Regions from separate parts of the Homo sapiens genome. Here all the other regions are linked to region 2. The links are contacts of gene promoters, found by promoter capture Hi-C in blood cells and fetal thymus (Javierre and others, 2016). All regions are on one chromosome and are shown on one strand. Each heading gives the region's core, a stretch centred on a gene start or on the middle of the fragment in contact. The rest is flanking DNA. Distances are from core to core; before and after follow the strand shown.

The links. Contacts are between HindIII fragments. The CHiCAGO score rates a contact against its expected background, and 5 or more counts as called.
Region 1: a contact is called between the fragment with the promoter of PDLIM2 here and the fragment with the promoter of TNFRSF10A in region 2, in 1 of 17 cell types (naive CD4 T cells). The highest score is 5.8, in naive CD4 T cells.
Region 3: the fragment with the promoter of BIN3 here is called in contact with the fragment with the promoter of TNFRSF10A in region 2 in 6 of 17 cell types (fetal thymus, naive CD8 T cells, total B cells and 3 more); the score reaches 9.7 in fetal thymus.
Region 4: a contact is called between the fragment with the promoter of CCAR2 here and the fragment with the promoter of TNFRSF10A in region 2, in 2 of 17 cell types (non-activated CD4 T cells and total CD8 T cells). The highest score is 5.5, in non-activated CD4 T cells.

The regions. Positions count from the first base shown.
Region 1 is chr8:22,579,225-22,582,306 of GRCh38, reverse strand. It overlaps PDLIM2 (PDZ and LIM domain 2), which reads right to left and starts at 1,832. Exons shown (of 9, transcript NM_001368120.1): 1 at 1,610-1,832; 2 at 777-928. The coding sequence starts at 1,702. RefSeq lists silencers at 1-231, 1,796-1,885, 2,616-2,775, 2,786-2,875, 2,976-3,045 and an enhancer at 1-598. The HindIII fragment of the contact is 20,077 bases long and covers 1-3,082 here.
Region 2 is chr8:23,223,749-23,226,723 of GRCh38, reverse strand. It overlaps TNFRSF10A (TNF receptor superfamily member 10a), which reads left to right and starts at 1,622. Exons shown (of 10, transcript NM_003844.4): 1 at 1,622-1,968. The coding sequence starts at 1,663. It overlaps TNFRSF10A-DT (TNFRSF10A divergent transcript), which reads right to left and starts at 1,503. Exons shown (of 3, transcript NR_033928.1): 1 at 601-1,503. RefSeq lists an enhancer at 1,230-1,369, silencers at 1,421-1,612, 1,780-2,029, promoters at 1,012-1,665, 1-1,665, 1,094-2,130 and a cis regulatory region at 2,051-2,130. The HindIII fragment of the contact is 5,488 bases long and covers 1-2,975 here.
Region 3 is chr8:22,667,846-22,670,930 of GRCh38, reverse strand. It overlaps BIN3 (bridging integrator 3), which reads left to right and starts at 1,810. Exons shown (of 9, transcript NM_018688.6): 1 at 1,810-1,887. The coding sequence starts at 1,880. RefSeq lists enhancers at 1,641-1,700, 1,458-2,087 and a silencer at 1,951-2,110. The HindIII fragment of the contact is 6,679 bases long and covers 1-3,015 here.
Region 4 is chr8:22,603,418-22,606,583 of GRCh38, reverse strand. It overlaps CCAR2 (cell cycle and apoptosis regulator 2), which reads right to left and starts at 1,827. Exons shown (of 21, transcript NM_001393997.1): 1 at 1,742-1,827; 2 at 753-848; 3 at 408-499. The coding sequence starts at 810. It overlaps C8orf58 (chromosome 8 open reading frame 58), which reads right to left. Exons shown (of 7, transcript NM_001013842.3): 7 at 2,442-3,166. It overlaps LOC107986876 (a long non-coding RNA gene), which reads left to right and starts at 1,584. Exons shown (of 1, transcript NR_160769.1): 1 at 1,584-3,166. RefSeq lists silencers at 1,410-1,469, 1,530-1,829 and enhancers at 1,493-1,993, 2,000-2,109. The HindIII fragment of the contact is 4,257 bases long and covers 179-3,166 here.

The DNA.
Region 1 (3,082 bases), core at 583-3,082, 640 kb after region 2:
ACCACAGGGCAGGGCAGTTGGAGAAGGAGGGGCTTGGTAGGGCTGAAGAGAGCAGGACAATGTGGGGGTGGCCAGGATGCAAGAGGTGTCTGACTCAGGTTCTAGGCCCGTGCAGAGGGCTCTCCTGGCTCGGGGATCTCCTGGCATTCCCGATCTGTGACTCACTGCAATGCCCCACCCCAGGGAGCCACCTGTTCCCCCTATAGCTTGGCCTCCAGGCCCCACCCTGGCCCCACCTTGGCTTATAGGCTCAAAACCCTAGGAGTAACCCAGGATCGGGCATCTGCCTTCAGTGATGGGGAGGAACAGACAGCCTCTATGAGGAATGAGCCCCCCAAGTCCTCACTTCCAGCTGGGAACTAAACAAAGGCCATGCCCTGTTGGAAGCAGGAGTCCTGGGGATGCAGCCTCGGGCATACCTTTCCCAGAAGGTTCCCCTCTTCAACCCACTTCATGCCCACGCCCTGTGCCCTGCACACTCTTGGGAACCAGTCAAACCCGGGCTTCAAGGTGGCTGGTGCCAGCTCGCCCTGCCCAGCCTGTGACTGCACGCCCAGCCTGGCGCCCACCTTTACCCAACCAGGCATGGGAACACCCCTCAGCCCACCCTGCTGCAGGAAGCAGAGCCCAGGACCTTCTCACCAAGGTGTGGAGAGGGCCCAAGAAGGCCGCTTTAGGGCTGAGCTCTAGCCCATGGGCAGGAGCAAGGGCTGCTCAATACGTGGGGTGGTGGAGGAGGGGGAATGCCACAGGCTCTGCAGAGCGGGAGGCCCTACCGGTCCAGCTGCAGCCGCAGGGGCGAGGGGCTCTGGCGGATCTTGCTCTGGGCCTCGGCATGCAGCATGCCCTCCGCGCTTTCCCCGTTGATGGCCACGATTATGTCTCCAGGCCGGAGGTCAGCGTCCTTGGCTTTGCCCCGCTCGGCCACCTGTAGGGATGAGGAGCTGGCATGCTCAGACCGTGGCCCAGCTGGAGAAGGGACTTCCCACTCTGCTACCCAAGAAACACAGAGGCTGGCTTGACCCAGGCCGGCCTGCACCCTCCTGCATGTCCCTCTGCCTGCTCATGACACCCAGCTGATCAGCCATCCCCTCCAGGAGCGCAGGTGGCAGCCCCCACCCCACACTGGCATTCTAATGGGCCTCCCAAAGAATGTGCAGTGGCAGAATTTCAGGAACTGTGCTTGGAAATACTTTTGGATAGAGAGCCTTGCCCGTGCAAATCGCACCTTGCAGGTGGCTGCCTGCACAGCCCTCCTGTGAATGTTCCCAGCCTGGGCCCAGGTCAAGAGGAGACTGCCAAGAACTCCGGGGCTCTTGTTCTAGTAATCACCCCAAATGGCTGCCTGCAAGTGTGGGGATAGCAACTGGGGAGGCAAGAGCCGGCCCTGTCCTGGTCCCAGCTCCCTTTCACTCCCAAGGTCTGTTCCTGAAGTGGCCACCACATCCCCGTGGCAAAGGGCCACGGCTCCCTTACAGCCAGCACGCCAGGCAGCAGCAGATCCCTAGCTCCAGAACAGAAAAAGCAAGCCATCTGTGCAGAGTGGGGTGAACAGGGCCGACCTCGCTTCTGGCAGGACCTTCTCATCTCTTTGAGCCACCATCCTTACCTTAGTCACCATGATGGGCGTGTGGAAATCCCTGCCCCCTGTGATACGGAAGCCCCAGGGCGCTGGCCCGGCCACATCCACCGTCAACGCCATACCTGAGGAAGAGAGGACCAGGAGGTGAAGTCCATGCCCCTAGCCGGCTCTGGGGGCACTGTAAGGCAGCAGGAGAGGAGCCAAAGGGAGAAGGAGAGGGCACCACAGCTCCCGGAGCAGCTACTCAGGGGCTTTGGGGTGGGTAGAGGAAGTGGCTAACTCCCTCCCTCAGCCCGGTTTCACTTCCCCCCACCCTGGGAAGCCATGCTTCTGGGTTCTCCCTTCCTTAGTCTTCAGCCCAGGGAGCGACTCCCAGGAGGGGGCTGCCCAGGCTGCCAGGCAGGGGGCTTGCTGGAGCATGGGGGGCAGGGGCTGGCAAGTGGAGGGGATGCCAGCACCCCCTCAGTCTCCCCTCCTCCACCATCAGGGCTCAGTCCCACTAGCGCTTGCTTCCTGTCCCCAAAACCCACAGCACACGGTACTTCCTCTCCACTCTGGGGGAGGGCTGGTGAGTGGCCTAGGGAGAGCAGGGCTCAGGAAGCAGGAGTGACGGGTCAAGGAACAGGCTGGCACCAGTACAGACTGTGTAAGTCACTGGCCAGGTGAAGGACTGGTGGGGTGAGGCCGAGTCTTCACATGGGCCTCCTAGCTGCCCACCTCGTTCTTGGCAAAGTGGATCACACGGGCAAGACCGGGCTCCCCACCTCCCCCAGGGGCCGGCTGCCAGGGCAAGGAGGCCAGGGTTCATCTGTCAAGCTGGACACACCCACCCCCAGATTCCTGATGCTGCCCGACAGACAGCCGGGGTGACAGGCCTCCCATCCACAGCCCCTCCGCTGGGCAAGGAAGTGCCCTTGCAGACAGACCCCTGTGGGATTTCCTGAGCCTCTAGCTCTGGAGCCAGGAGCCAATCCAGGCAGGAAGCCGCGGTGCCAGGCTGGGCACCACCCTGCCCAGCACCCATCCTGGGGCTGCCCTGGGGACGCAAGTGCTGCGAGAATCTATCAAGAGCACCAGCGGTCTGTCCGCTCCATCCCCGGCTGCCTTCCCCTTGGGCCCAGGCCTAGCCTCTGTTCCCAGCACCGCCCCCACCCCAGTCCCCGAGGCCGGCTCGCGGCCGCCCCGAGATTCCCAGACCTTTGAGCCGGTCAGTGGACTCCGCGCTGCGGGCGCCGCGGGGAGGTGCCCAGCCCGATGGCCCGGCTCTACCAGTTCTGGAGCCTCCTTCGCTCCGAGGGCAAAGTACCCTGCGGGCTGGGGGCTGGAGGAGGAGCGCTCCGGCCGGGGAGAGCGCAGCTCGCGGGGGCGCCCCCGCTGATGCGAGGCTCCAGGGAGCTGGGCCGCGGACGAGGCCAGGGTTCCGCGCCGACAGGGGCGCGGAGAGGAGCCCGGCGCCGGGGAGGGCGGGCCGCGCGGAGAGGCGCAGGTGGGCGCGCTCAC
Region 2 (2,975 bases), core at 373-2,872:
AACCATTTGGGAGGTGGGTAGTAGGGGGAGGACTTGAACTGCCTGATTTCAAGACTGACTATACAGCTCATAATTAGGACAATGTGGTAATTAGCATGAGAATAGCCAAATAAATAAACGGAACAGAATAGAGTCCGGAAATGGACACATACATATATATGGTCAATTTAATTTCAACAAAAGTGATAAGGCTATTGGATAAGGAAAAAAAGTCTTTTTTTTTTTTTTTTTTGAGACGGAGTTTCCCTCTTGTGGCCCAGGCTGGAGCGCAATGGCTCCATCTCGGCTCCCCGCAGCCTCTGCCTCCCGGGTTCAAGCGATTCTCCTGCCTCAGTCTCCCGAGTGGCTGGGATTACAGGCATCCGCCACCACGCCCCGCTAATTTTGTATTTTTAGTAGAGGCTGCGTTTCTCCATGTCGGTCAGGCTGGTCTCGAACTCCTGACCTCAGGTGATCCGCCCGCCTCGGCCTCCCAAAGTGCTGGGATTACAGGCGTGAGCCACCGCGCCCGGTCGAAAAGAGTCTTTTCAACAAATGGTACCGGAACACCATTAAAATATGGAGAAAAATGAACATCAATCAGCGCCCCCTTTCTCTTACCCACTCCTCAGCCCCAAGGTCGCCCTGGGAGTTCTTCGCAGGCAGGACCGTGACTCGCGTGGCTTTCGGGAGGCTGATTACCCACGCCCCATGCCCGTGCAGCGCTGGGTGCAGAGGAACCGCTGGAAGGACCTGTCCCCCGTGGGACCCCCACCAAGTCTCATCCCGTGTCATGTGCCAGATAGTCTCCCGTGGTTTAAGGACTTTCAAGACTCTTAACAGGTTAGGAAAATCCAGAAGAAAGGCAGAATTGGGTCCCTCGGGCTTGCCTGACACCAGGGACGGTGGAGTTGAGGTGACATTTCACTGGCATGGAGACCTGAAACCAAAAGCAGGATGAGCCGGGCACGGTGGCTCACGCTTGTAATCCCAGCACTTTGTAAGGCCGAAGCGGGCGGATCACGAGATCAGGAGCTCGAGACCAGCCTGGCCAAAACAGTGAAACCCCCGTCTCTACTAAAAATAGAAAAAAAATTAGCCGGACGTGGTGGCGGGCACCTGTAATCCCAGTTACTCAGGAGGCTGAGGCAGGAAAATCGCTTGAACCTGGGAGGCGGAGGTTGCAGTGAGCCGAGATCGTGCCACTGCACTCCAGCCTGGGCGACAGAGCTTGACTCCATCTCAAAAAAAAAAAAAAAAAAAAAAGGCAGGCTGAATCACTCGCCCGGTAGTGACGGAGGAGGCCGTAAAAGCCTCTTAGAGGCCAGACCCCGCAGTGGCCTCTGTGTCCTTCATTCCGCCACCCATCCGTCCACCGAGCGCCTGCTGGGTGCCAGGAACTGGGTCACAGAAAGGCTGAGGTCAACTCCCGACCGAGAAGCCTGGCGCTGGGACCAAGTGGCAAAACGACTCCGAATGCAGCGGCATCCACGCGGCGGCCGTGGTTGAGGAACAGAAGCTGAGAGCGGCAAGGGCGGTCACAGAGGAAGGAAGTTCAGGGTTAGCCAACAGGAGCCGCAGGTGCCCCGAAAAGGGGGCGGGGTCAGGGGTGCCCTGAACTCCGAATGCGAAGTTCTGTCTTGTCATAGCCAAGCACGCTGCTTCTTGGATTGACCTGGCAGGATGGCGCCACCACCAGCTAGAGTACATCTAGGTGCGTTCCTGGCAGTGACTCCGAATCCCGGGAGCGCAGCGAGTGGGACAGAGGCAGCCGCGGCCACACCCAGCAAAGTGTGGGGCTCTTCCGCGGGGAGGATTGAACCACGAGGCGGGGGCCGAGGAGCGCTCCCTACCTCCATGGGACAGCACGGACCCAGTGCCCGGGCCCGGGCAGGGCGCGCCCCAGGACCCAGGCCGGCGCGGGAAGCCAGCCCTCGGCTCCGGGTCCACAAGACCTTCAAGTTTGTCGTCGTCGGGGTCCTGCTGCAGGTGAGTCCCCACCGCGGTCCTGCCTGGGGAAAAGCGCGCCTGGCACCGGGAGGGGGCAGAGAGAGAGGGGGACGCGGCGGGGGTGCCTGGCCCGGGTCACTTGTGGCGGGGCATGTCCGGGCAGGAGGAGCCCGTCGTCGGAGTCGGAGGAAGAACGGGGTCCCCGGGGCCAGGCAGGAGCGACCCGGGCCTGGAGGCAGCAGAGCCCCCTCCCGCAGGAGGCTGGGCCCGGGGACTCCACCCCGTTGGCTGCTGCCTGGCGCGTCTCCCTCCTGCCCACACCTCACGATGTATCGGGAAGTTTCGGAATCGATAGAGCTCAAGTGTGTAAACTTCCAAGCCAACTCCCAGCCACACCAGCTGCGTGAAGGGGAGCGCCATTCTCCCCACTCCCTGATTCCCTCCCCACCCCCGTCCTTCTTTTCTTCTCTTCTTTTTTTTTTTTTTTTTTTTTTTGAAACGGAGTCTCTCTCTGTCGCCCAGGCTGGAGTGTAGTGGCGCGATCTCGGCTCACTGCAAGCTCCGCCTTCCTGGTTCAAGCGATTCTCCTGCCTCAGCCTCCCGAGTAGCTGGGAGTACAGGCTCCTGCCACCACGCCCGGCTAATTTTTTGTATTTTTAGTAGTCACGGGGTTTCACTGTGTTAGCCAAATCCGCCCGCCTCGGCCTCCCAAAGTGCTGGGATTACAGGCGTGAGCCACCGCGCCCGGCCCTCCATCCTTCTTTTCTTAGACAAATTGGTTAAACACGCAGCCCGGCAGGAAAAAGTAACTTTCTCTCCTCTGCTCGTTGTCTTCCGTTTCGAGTCCACTGAGCACACCGGCAGCAGTTTCCTTCCAGCCACTTTCTTGCGCATCAACAGGTACAGGGCAGCGAATTGACCACCACGAGGCAGGCAGCCAGGAGCGGGGCACGCCCTTCCTTCAGGAGGCAGCGTTTCCTGTGAAAGCAATCACTCAGTCTGGAAAAATGCCAATGCCTTCAGTTCTCTTTCAAGTTCATTAAGGC
Region 3 (3,085 bases), core at 561-3,060, 560 kb after region 2:
TCTGCTGCCCTCCAGCCCTGAAACAGACTTCTACTAGGATATAGCAGTTACCTAGGCTAAAACGTTTGGAAATATTTATCCCTGTGGGGCATAACTGAGGGAGGCAGAACATGGGGAAGGGAGGAAGCAGGTGGGAAAACTATTCACAGGTGCTAACTGCCAGGAGGCTCCTAAACCCACAACAGCCCTTCCATCCGTCACACTCTCTGCAAAGCAGCAAGGACTCTCTCTTTCCCTTTACCCACACTCTCTGCCCAGGCTACCCTTTGGTGACTTCTGCTCTTCCTCTTTACTCTTCAAGGCTGCTCTTGTGCTCATTTTGGCCTGTTTCCTGAGGAACAACATGGTAATGAAGCTGATCTGCATGATGTGCTTGGGGATCCAACCTCCATTGGAAACGTCAATTGAGTCAAACTATGGACTCTCAAGAATGGAAACAGAAAACACAAATGAGAGACTGCATCCTGTGGCCCACCCTCCTACCTCTCCTGCTCAAGCCCTCTACTCCACCCTAGGAGGTCAAAACAAATCATACACTACTTCTGCTCTAGGTCATTGGTCATATTTTTCCCGCTAGGTCATTGATTAGCAACCCCCTAAGCAGTCCCTGAAACAATCCCGGTCCATCTGAGGAAGGAGAATTCCTAGAGAGAAGGTCACTGGGGGCCCAGCAGCACCTGCACGGGCCTCACTGCCTTCTTGTCTCTCTTCCAAGGCAGGGAGGTACTTAGCGGTGAGGAAACCAAGTCGGCCCAGAATCCCAGGCAACTTGTGAGCCACTAAGGCCCTGAATTCTGACTTTGGGAGACCCGAGGCAAGTCAGCTGCTTGCTTGGTCCTGTCTGTGTCTTAGCCATGGTAAGTTCCCTCTGCCTGGAGCCTCGTCACCCCTCATCTCAGATTCACCTGGCTAGCCCCGATTCTGCCTTCAGGGCTTGGCTTACACACTGGCTCCTCCTGGAAGCCTTCCCCAAAACCCCATGTGCTACTTCAGGGTCCCCTTCTAGGCTGCCACCACACCTCATTCTATCCTATCCTATAGCATGATTATAATTGCCTGCTTGTCTCTCCCTCCAGGAAAGTAGCTCTGGGAAGGAACAAGAGCAGGGCAGATACTTCTCTGAGATAGCTGTATCCTAAGGTTGGCTCGGTACCTGACACTAATATTAGTGCAACTAGTATTAGTTAAATGAAGGAATAGAACGAATGGGGCAATTTACATCATTTGAGTCCTGTAGAGGAGACCAAAGGGAAGGGCTGAAAGGCAGGGAACAACTCATACTCTGCGTCTTATTGTGTTGAATAACTCTAGGAAACATTCCAACCTGAAAAGCACCTATCTATTGATATTCAGAGCCCTGTGCCATCTTGGAAGGGAAACGTCCGTTTGTTTGTAACAGGTAATGCATGTGTGGTGTACAAACTGTAAAAGATAGGAAAGAGCATTCAGAGAATGTAAGTTTTCCACTTTCTCCATCCCAAATGGCTTCTTCTCCCACAGACAATTGCTGCCACTGTCTCTGGATTAGAAACCACTTGACAGAGGGGACAGCCCGGCTAAGGGCCCTGCATGGTCAGGTGAAGAGATCTTTAGGAGTCAGTGTTGAAGGCAGAAAACGCCCCCAGAGGTTCCCCTCATCCCCCGTTGCAGCCTGTGTGTCTAAGCGCTTGGCCAGAGCCAGAGAGTCGCCGGCAAGGGAAACTCCGCGGCGAGCACGCAGCAGCAGAAGGGTTAACGCGCCGGGCTCCGCCTCCCAACCGCCTCTTCCGGGCAGAGAGGCGGGCTTACGTCACTTCCTGGAGACTGGTTGAATCCGGAAGTGACCCTAGAGAAACGAGTTGTGGCTGAGGACCCCGGCGGCAGACGCAGGTTCGGGACCATGAGCTGGTGAGTGAGGCCCAGGCGGCGGGAGCTGCTGGACCCGCGGACCCGCGAGGCCCCTGGCCCTGTGTCAGTGCCGCGTCCCGGCTCCCTCCGGTCCCGCGCGACCCCTCCGCCCCAGAGCAAGGCCCGACAGCCCCTGCCCTAGGGTCGTTCCCTCGGTGCTTTCCGGAGTCGCAGTCTCTCAGCAGGACTCCCGGGGAGAGTGGCGGATGATCCTCTTAGCCTGGGACTCCGCGTCTGACCCGTTTTGCCGGACTCGCGTCCTCCTAGCTCCTTGAAGTGAGGGACTTCCTTGTTCCCTCCTTTTTTAAACACCCATTGAGGTGGAGTCAGTGTCGTCTTTCTCTCCTGTGGGCATCTCTGCCCCGCGCCAGTCCCTCCAGAGCTGTGGCCCTCGCTGTGGCAGCCTGGACCCAGTTCACTAATCAAAACCCACTCCCTTCTGGGTAACTATCCTCTTTGCACGACTTAGCAGGCTTCAAAAGACAAGGAAAACTTGCTTCTCTTTTTAAAGGGGCCAGAATTACACTCCGCACACACCCTTCCACTGTGGGATTGGACTGGTTTTAATCATTCCAGAGCTATTACTCACTGCCTGCCCTCTAAATAGGCATGGTTAAGTTTAAACTTATGGGAACTATCATGCCATGAGAAAAGAAGCCAGGGAGTCTTAGAGTAATAGAGTCACAATTCCAGTTGCTGCAGTATGATGTGATACTTGGGTCATAGTAGACACTTCATAATGGTGTATTTATTTTGTAAGACTCAGTTTGCCCAAAAGGCAATCCCCATTTGTTGCTCTCGATTATTTATGTTCACAGGAGAGAATTGTGACTTGCCTGCCTTCCTGGGGCTTTCTTAGAGGTTAGAGAATACTCATATGCAGCACCTTACCTTACCGTCAGGCCCAAGGACCTATATAGCCACAACCCTGGACCTCAGGGGATTCAACTATAGTGTGTGAATAAATTGAGCCCCAGAGATGTACAAGATTAATCAGCCCATGGACATAGGGAACATATTTGCCACTCTGTCCTCAGAGGCTAGTGTGTTTGTTTATGCAAAGCGCATGATAACCAGTTATGAATGAATTAAGATAACAGAATGTCCTTCAGGAAGGCTTTTGAAGCTTAATTTTGGCCATCAGTGGAGAACGCAAGCAGCTGATATCAGTCAGTGTCAGGGATACTTCTCTAAAGTA
Region 4 (3,166 bases), core at 578-3,077, 620 kb after region 2:
AAAGTAAAAGGGAGGAAACTGGACAAAATCACACTCTGCCATGAAGGTCTCATCTCAACCCACGCCCCAGCTCAGCGTACTGCATCAAGAGTTCGCACAGAGTGAAGTACAGGTGTGGTGGGCATACTCCATCATTAGGGGTTGGGGCATGTTTGAGCTGGTTCTTGACCCACAAGCTTCTTCTGGGATTTCCAGTTCATTAATTCCAAGACGTAAGCTAAAGATTTCCCTGGAGCGAGAAATGAAGATGCCCCAGTCTGAAGGCTATCTGGGCAACCCCATACTAGCCCACTACCAGGAGAGGGATCAGGAATGATAAACACTATTATGTAAGAGAAAAAGAGCACCAGGCCTCCATGCATTCAGTCCCAAGGGCTGAAACTTACTACAAGGGATGCCGAACCTACCTGAAGGTGCCTGGCATTCTGGGACAGTTCTGTGGCCACAGGAGGAGTGAGCAAACCAGGAGGAGGGCCCAGAAGAGATGTTGAAGCTGTGCCTATGGGGAAAGAGAAGCAATCTCCAGGAACCGCCCCTACCACCTTAAGCACGAGTCAACCAAAGGATGTGGTAAATCCAAAGGCTACAGCTCCAGCCAGCTCCTCCACAGAGCTTCACTGGCAATCACTGTGGGCATCTCCTGCTTTCCAGAGGAACATCAGCAGCAAATTGCTCTCCACCAGGGAAACCCCAAACTAACTCCAGAGCACATACTTCCCAGGATGAGGCCAGGTAGGGAGAACAGTGATCACCTGAGAAGTTGCGTCCCCCTGGAAGCGGGTTGATCCGCTGGCGCTTAAACTGGGACATTGGGAACGCTGTCCTCTTTCAGAGTCGTGGGGAAAAGGCTTCAATCCAAAAAGAAAGAAATTAACAGCTTATAAGGGAAATTTCCATCTATACCCGGAAAAGTGGAGAATCTTAAGTAAGGATATTTCGGAAAACAGGGAGGTGGGTAATAAGAATGAATGAAAGCAATGGATGGAGAGAATATAGAGAAGAAAGAAATGAAACAAGAAATTACATTGTTCCAGTTTGCCCTGACAATAACCTAGTGGTGCATGATACTGTCATGCTGTTTTACAGACAAGGAAACTGATGCTCAGAGAGATCAAGAGACTTGCCCGGGGCCACATAACCAGGTAGTGACAAAACTGCTACTCACACCCAGGCCTCCCAACAACTTAGCGCTCCTCTCACTATGCCACGCCACCCCCAGAGTAGCTGGCGGGGTGAGGGGCTCGAGAGAGCCCCGATGACATTCCTTCGTTCAAAAACATCCGCCAAAACCCTCCACGCAAGGCCCGGAAAAATGGAGGAGGCCGGTGCCGGCGAGGAGACTGTGTGGGCCCTCTCCCCGGAAGCCCGACCCGTTGTTTCCTCGACCGGCTGGTGGGAAGGCAGCTCCCTGGCCGACCAAACGCGAAACCGGCTGCGCGCCACCCTCCTGCTCCCACGCTCCCGGGCCCTCCGCTCCGGCCTCAGCAGCCGCCAGCGCCGGGTCTCCCAGCAGAGCCGCGGCGAGGCCACCAAGGGAGGACTGAGGCGCGCGGTTTCTCCTCCTCCCGCCCGCCCCCAAGGCCGAGGCCGTTGCCAGGGAGACGGGACTTGCAGTCCAAAGAGGGGCTCGGCCCCTTCCGCGCCCCACGCATCTTCGCCGCCCGGCCCTCGCAGCCCCTCGGCCAGCGGAGGGGCGGAGGGGCGAAGGGGCAGAGGGGCGGCAGGGGGCCCCCCAACCCACCTGCGGGCCAGGGCAGCGACACCGGGGGGACAAAGACACCCGGAACCACCACAGCCGCTGCTGCCGCCGCCACCGGAAGCGCCTCTCCGGAAGCGCGACCACTGGTCGGAAGCTGCCGCTCTCCCGGATATGGTCCCTCCCTCGTCTCCGCCGACCTCTCCCTTCCCCCACGCCGGCTTGCCATCCCGCGGCAACTGGGGAGCGGAAGTGCGCCTTCCCGGATCGGATGCGCGTCAGGAAGTCGCGCCTCGGTAGTGTCCTCGCTAAAGAATCCCATCAGGAAAGAAGGCTTCGGATCATTGGTTCCGGGCTCAAAGGAAGCGGGAGCTGGGCCCCCCAAACACAAGGGACCCCCGACTGCCTACCACGCTCGCCTCCCTCTGGCAGTCGAGACTGCAACAGATAAGGAAACCAGCCCCTCCTGACTGGAGGAGAAGGATGCCTATCAGTGACCATTTCTAAGAGACATTCCTGGTCTGACTCAAGCCAGTGACCACCATGCCTAGCCAGTCAGGAATCAGTGCCCTAATTCTCAAATATGAAATCTAAGAGGCCTCAATGAAATGACCTGCTCAAAATCTTGCCAGGAGACTGGCCATTTTAGTCCCCATTAGCAATCCCAGCCCCCCCTTATCCTCCGACCTCCCCATCATCACTCCAGCCTTACTTTCCCCTTTCCTATTCACCTGAGGTTTACAAAGCACTTTGAGGCAGTTTAATCTCACTTTATCCTCATAACAAGTCTGTGAGGTAGATAGGGCAGGCATCATTATTCCCAGCGGGAAGCTGTGGCTCAGAAAGGTTGACTTGGGGTCTAAAAACTAGTACAGGCATCTGGTTTGAATTAAGACCTGTAAACGCTAGTACGGAGCAGAGAAGCTGAGCACTGGCTTTGAAAGTTATTCAGTTCCCAGGTTGTCCCTGATCTTCCTCATTCCTTGTGCAGTCTTCAGGAGTCCGGGGCAAGATTCCATGCAGAGGCAGCCAAAGCCACACCGTTCTCTGTCCCAGGGCTGCCAGCATGGCTCTGAGGAGGAAAGCTCAGTAACTGCCCACTGGGGAATAAAGGTCAGTTCCATCCTTCTGCAGTGACCTCCCCCAGAATATCAACCCTTTGGATGCATTATTTCAGAAGAGATGGTTGGATCCAGCCAGCTTGCAACACTGACAGTCACACAGAGATATGCATACCATTGCGCATAAATACACATCTGCAACATGCTGGGCCCAGACAGGTCACCATGCCAAAAACACTCCACGGACACCTGACAATGAGTGAGTTCACATTGTGGAAGCCCAGGGATTTCTGGTGAGGAGGAAGAGCCCTGGAGCTGCGGCATCTTGGGGGCCTCTCAAGAAACCAAGGTTCCTGACCAGACTGCTTAGAGGAGAAAGATTCAGCCCTCGACTCAAGAGAGGAGGGCA